2 separate regions of the Homo sapiens genome follow, and region 1 is linked to region 2. Evidence: promoter capture Hi-C in human tissues and cell types (Jung and others, 2019). All regions are on one chromosome and are shown on one strand. Each heading gives the region's core, a stretch centred on a gene start or on the middle of the fragment in contact. The rest is flanking DNA. Distances are from core to core; before and after follow the strand shown.

Region 1 (2,700 bases), core at 106-2,605, 520 kb after region 2:
CTCCCATATATGCCTTATCAATAAACATTGATTCAAAGACTAGATATATGAATGAATGAATGAGTGATGAAAATGGCTCATCTTGGGACACAAAAACATCTCTACCTTCTGATACAGAAGCTCTGTACTGCTGGATTCAGCACAGGCTAGAGAGAGGACTTCCATGTTGACCTGACCCCGTAGATTGTATTCCTTTGAGAAATGTCTTTCCATGCCTTCTCCACTCCCTTCCTCTGCTAAGCTGCCTTCCCTGACCAGATTCTTCACTTTTTTTTTTTTGAGATGGAGTTTTGTTCTTGTTGTCCAGGCTGGGTTGCAATGGCGTGATCTTGGCTCACTGCAACCTCTGCCTCCCAGGTTCAAACGATTCTCCTGCCTCAGCCTCCTGAGTAGCTGGGACTACAGGCATCTGCCACCATGCCCGGCTAATTTTTGTATTTTTAATAGAGATGGAGTTTCACCATGTTGGCCAGGCTGGTCTTGAACTCCTGACCTCAGGTTATCCACCTGCTTCAACCTCCCAAAGTACTGGTATTACAGGCGTGAGCCACGGCACCCGGCTGGATTCTTCACATTCTGGTGCATCCAGTGGCACACATTTGCACAGCAACAAGAGCAAAGGCCTCCACACCCTCCACTGCTGCCCCCCACAACCGCCACCAGCCCTGCTAGGTGGGAAGGGAAAGCCTTAATATCCCCATTTTATGCACCAGGAAACCGAGGCTCAGAGGCGTGTGCCTGGCCCACCATCACACAGCTAATGAACAGCAGGGCCTGGATTTGTACGAGTCAAAACCTTTTTTTTCCTTTTTTATTTGATCACATGCTATCTCTAGATAGAGATGCCATATTCTGTTTATAATGACCATCCAGTTAGTGTGGAGGCTCTACCCCTCCCAGGACAAAGAGATGCCTGTGGACAGTGTCCTAGTGACTTCTTATCCCATGGGAGCGTGTAATGTGGAAAGAATTTAGGAACTCCCTGCTGAAGGGCCAAAGTGCAAAACATGCCTGTGATGTGGGCATCGGCAACTCTGAATGCCCCCTTATATATGACAGGTCACCTGCCCCCTTTGCCGAGGTCTCTCAGGATGCTTGGATTTCTATATTTTCTTCCGAGACCCTGGTACCCACCTCCAAACTGCATATCTTTAATTGGCAGGTCCCCTTCCTTACTTTTCACCCATTTCCTTGTGGCCAAGGACCATCTCCACTCCTCCAGAGGATGGCACAGCATGGGAAATGAGGCTTTGGGCCTAGCAGATCTGGGTTCCAATCCTAGCTCAGCCTCTTTAATAGTTGTGTGACTGCTGGCAGTTACTTAACTGCTCTGAGCTCAGTTTCCTCCTCTGTAAAACCAGGATAATACATCAAAGGTTTTTTTTTTTGGTTGTTTTTTGTTTTTTTTTTTTTTTTTACATGAAGCTAATGACCTATGAGTATCAAGATTCTTCACTCAGGCCTCATTTAGCTGGAATTCAGAGTGATCTGAAGCTAATGCTATACAGTGGTCAAAAGCAAGTCAGACCACCTGGGTTCAACTCCCAGATCCTGCACTTATTCACCTGCTGTGTGACTCTGGGAAGTTTACTTGACATCTCTGAGCTTCAGATTCCTCACCAGTAAAATGGAGATAAAAACAGTGCCTAACTCGCGGGGCTGCTTTGCACTGAAAAGCCATCACTCACATTAACAGCTTAGCACAGTGTCTGGAACTTGACCAGTGCTTAGTAAATGTTTGCCATGAATTATTAGCCATTAGTAATGTATTAGTGAATTGGTGGGCAGCTCTACAAGGAGCAAATTTGCATAAGGTTTTGACTATAGGAATGGGAAGGTAAACAAGACATTGGTCTCAGATCTTGGTCTTTGGGGCTGTCTGGCATCTGATCCCTGTTGAGGGACTAAGCAGCAGGCAGAATGAAGGTGAAGAGCCATTTTCACACACCAAGTTACAAAATGTGACACAGGATGGTTTAAGGCAGTGGCATTTCCAGGAAATATAAAGCATCTATTTATTGAGCAGCTATTATGTTCCCAGGCCTGTGCTTGGTGCTGAGGTTGAGTGGTGAGCCGGAGATGCAGCCCTGCCCTCGTGCAGCATGGAATCTGGTGCTGCTTGTGGGTCTGCACACCAGGGCACTTCCCTCAGGGTGAATTCTAGCAATCTTGCGGGGGCCCAGCAGCCTCTGCCAGTTCCAGGCTGCAGATATTCCTGGAGGAGTTTGGAGAAGCAGAACATCAGAGAACAATTACCCGCCTCACAAAAGACACCCCAGAGGGCTTCCAGAAGTAAGAGGGTGAGATCGTGAAAGGGCAGGTGGGAGCGCGAGGGTGCATTCAGGGCTGTGATGGTGGAAGGGTGGCATTACGACCTGATGACCAGTGAAACCTGGGGCAGTTAAGGATCGGAATGTGGAGCACCTGATACGAGGCACAGCACTCCGTCGAGGAGGGCTGCTTTCTGCCCCTCGCAGGGCCTGCCCACAGACACAGACACACTCAGCACCCTCCACATTCATTCTACATGCATGTGTTCAAAACACACAGCCAGCACACATGGAGCATTCCACAGGGTGCACACAGGGATACACCTCACAGTGTACTCAGAAGACACATACCTCAGACCTCAAACACAAACCAGAGGAGCCTCTCCCCCTGACATCTCCACACACCTCTGCCGTCTCGCTTCCCCTCCCT
Region 2 (2,700 bases), core at 165-2,664:
CCCGCGGGGTCACTGCACTGAGCCGGGCAGTGTGTGGTGGTGGTGGTGGTGCAGCGCCGCCGGCGGGGGCGGTGGGGGCGCGGAGGGTGGCGATGCGCCGCCCCCGCCAGGCCCTAGCTCCCCAGGCGCGTATACATCGTCCATGGGCGGGTGGCCCGCGCCGGCCGCAGGGGTCATGCGCTTCTCCTTCTGCCGCCGGTTGCAGAACCAGACGCGCACCACCTCCTTCTCCAGCTGCAGGCTGTCTGCCAAGCCGGTGATCTCGTGCGCCGAGGGCTTGGGGCACTTGAGAAAGTGGCTCTCGAGCGCGCCTTTGACCCCCACCTCGATGGACGTGCGCTTCTTGCGCTTGCGGCCCTGCGCCGCGATCTTGTCCAGGTTGGTGGGGCTGCCGCTGGACGAGTCGGTCTCCTCCAGCCACTTGTTGAGCAGCGGCTTGAGCTTGCACATGTTCTTGAAGCTCAGCTGCAGGGCCTCGAAGCGGCAGATGGTGGTCTGCGAGAACACGTTACCGTAGAGCGTGCCCAGCGCCAGCCCCACGTCGGCCTGCGTAAAGCCCAGCTTGATGCGCCGCTGCTTGAACTGCTTGGCGAACTGCTCCAGGTCGTCCGAGCTGGGCGCATCCTCGTCCGAGTGCTCGCCCACCGATGAGCCGCCGCCGCCCGCGCCCGGGTGCAGGTGCGCCGCCGCCGCGTGCAGGCCGCCCGCGTGTGCATGTCCGTGTGCGTGTCCGTGGGCGCCCAGATGCGGCGGCGGCGACGGCTCCAGCTGCGCCTCGTGGCCATCCTCGTGCAGCGCGTGGTGCAGGCCCGGCCCCGCGCCGCCACCGCCCGCCGCCAGCATCCCGGCCAGGCCGCCGCCGCCGCCCCCCGGGTAGGCCGCCTGCGCGTACAGCCCGAGCGGCTGGGGCTGGTGGCCCCCGCTGGCCCCGGGCGAGGGCGACATGGCCGGGCCCAAGTGGTGCGCTGTGCTGCCCTGCGCCCATGCCGCGCCCGCGTGGGCCGCCCCCTGGTGCACCAGGCGCGCGTGGAAACCTCCGCCGCCGCCGCCGTCGTCGGCTCGGCCGGTGCCGCCGCCGCCTGCCTTGCCGTGTTCTAGGTGCGGGCCGCCGGCCCAATCGCCGCCGCCGCCTCCTCCCGTGGGTAGCCACTGGGGGTGCGCTAGGCCCACGGGGTGGCCCGCGCCCGCGCCCAGCCACTCGTGGTGCATCAGCTTCTGCACTTCGCGGTACGCGGCCCCTGCATGCAATCGCTCCGCGGCCGCCGCCGCCGCCGCCGCCGCCGCGGCGTCCGGGTGCATAAGCGGCCCGGTGCCCCCGGCTCCGCCACCGGGGCCCCGCGGCAGGTACTGCGCGGTGGTGGCCATGCCGCCCCGCGCCCTGCGCCGCGCCGCCGCCGCCGCTCCGCTCCGTCTGCGGGCCCCGCCGCCTCGCTCCGCCGGCTTAAAGCCCCGACCCGCTCGGCGCTCCGGAGCCCCACCCCGCCCGCCGCCCATTGGCTGCCCGCGGAGCTGCCTCCCGCCTCCCCTGCCCGGCCCCCGCCCCGCGCGCCCGCCCGCCACCCTGCCCGGCCGCCCAGAGCTCTCCATTGGGCGTCGCTCCCGGGGTCCCGCGCGCCGGCCGTGCTGATTGGCCGCTGGGGCTTCATTCACGGCCCCCCTACCGTCCGCGTACACACTCACGCCCCGGGGGCGCGGCCGCCACGTGGGGAGTGGCGCGGGGGTGGCCCTGGGACCGCACCCCCTCTCGTCCTGGCTGTGTGGGCCCCGCTTTCCCCCAGCGCTGGAGACTCCGAGCCCGGCCGGTCCCACATTCCACGCGAGCTGAATTCCCGCCCGCATCCCGCCCGGGCAGCAGGGATTGCCGGCTCCGGGAGGCGCTCGGGCTCCGAGAAGCGGCTCAGCCCCGCGCCCCTCCCTCCTCAGTACCGCTGCCGGCGGACCAGGATTCCCGCGGGTCCTGGCGGCTGCGAGCGCGAGGCGGCGCGGATTCGCGGCTCGGTTCCGGCGCGACTGCTCACCGCGCCCGCCTCGCCTCCCGCGGCTGCCAGCGTGCACTGGGCGCTCCTCGGCGCGTCTGCCCGGCCCGTCTCGGCTTTCCTTCTCCTTCCTCTAGTCCCAGCGTCACAACTCCGCCGACCTCCTCTGCCCTGAGAGCGCGTCCGGTGCGGGCGGAGTCGGACGGACTCTGGCTTCACGCCTCGCGCGGGCACACCTTCTCCCGGGCACTGAGGCCCAGGTGAGTACCGCGCGGGCAGCTGGGGCTGGGACGGCGGGCGGCAGCGGTTCTACAGTCCTACGCGAGCCCCTGGTACCCGGCCGCGCTCCGGGGTTCCAGAAGGAGAAGATCTCGAGGTGGAGACTGTGGCTCCGGGGAAAACGCTGCTGGCAAGGGCGCTAGTTGGGGGTGGACGTTGGGCCCAGGGGTATCTGACCTGCGCCGCTGCAGCCTTCTCGCTCCTTCTCCCAGCTTGAACGGCTCATCGGCTGTGGTCGTGGTGGGATCACGCCCCGGGAGAGGAGAAGGATGGGCTCAGGGAAGGGGCTCGGGCTCTCCAGAAATCCGGCGTGCAGGCCGGGAGCTGTCCAGCCTCGCTAAGAGCCCTGGGCTAGAGTTTGCCCGGACTTGCCTGGAGCTGCTGAAAAGGGAATTGAGATTGAGGAGGCCTTGTTGGAAAGGTGGGCAGTGGAATTTAGCTACCT

The links. The method cuts DNA at HindIII sites, captures the fragments that hold promoters and counts their contacts. A contact is called where the count stands out against the background at its distance.
Region 1: a fragment that was not itself captured here is called in contact with the fragment with the promoter of POU3F1 in region 2 in 1 of the 25 tissues and cell types used here (spleen).

The regions. Positions count from the first base shown.
Region 1 is chr1:38,566,665-38,569,364 of GRCh38, forward strand. No RefSeq gene overlaps it. Among named protein-coding and RNA genes, the nearest start is that of LINC01685, 93 kb to the left of the region's middle. RefSeq lists an enhancer at 1,722-2,329. The HindIII fragment of the contact is 7,584 bases long and covers 1-2,700 here.
Region 2 is chr1:38,045,379-38,048,078 of GRCh38, forward strand. It overlaps POU3F1 (POU class 3 homeobox 1), which reads right to left and starts at 1,415. Exons shown (of 1, transcript NM_002699.4): 1 at 1-1,415. The coding sequence starts at 1,365. The coding sequence ends at 10. MIR3659HG (MIR3659 host gene) reads left to right here and starts at 1,756. Exons shown (of 5, transcript NR_168386.1): 1 at 1,756-2,236. RefSeq lists a silencer at 1,476-1,805 and enhancers at 1,718-2,218, 2,219-2,700. The HindIII fragment of the contact is 7,503 bases long and covers 1-2,700 here.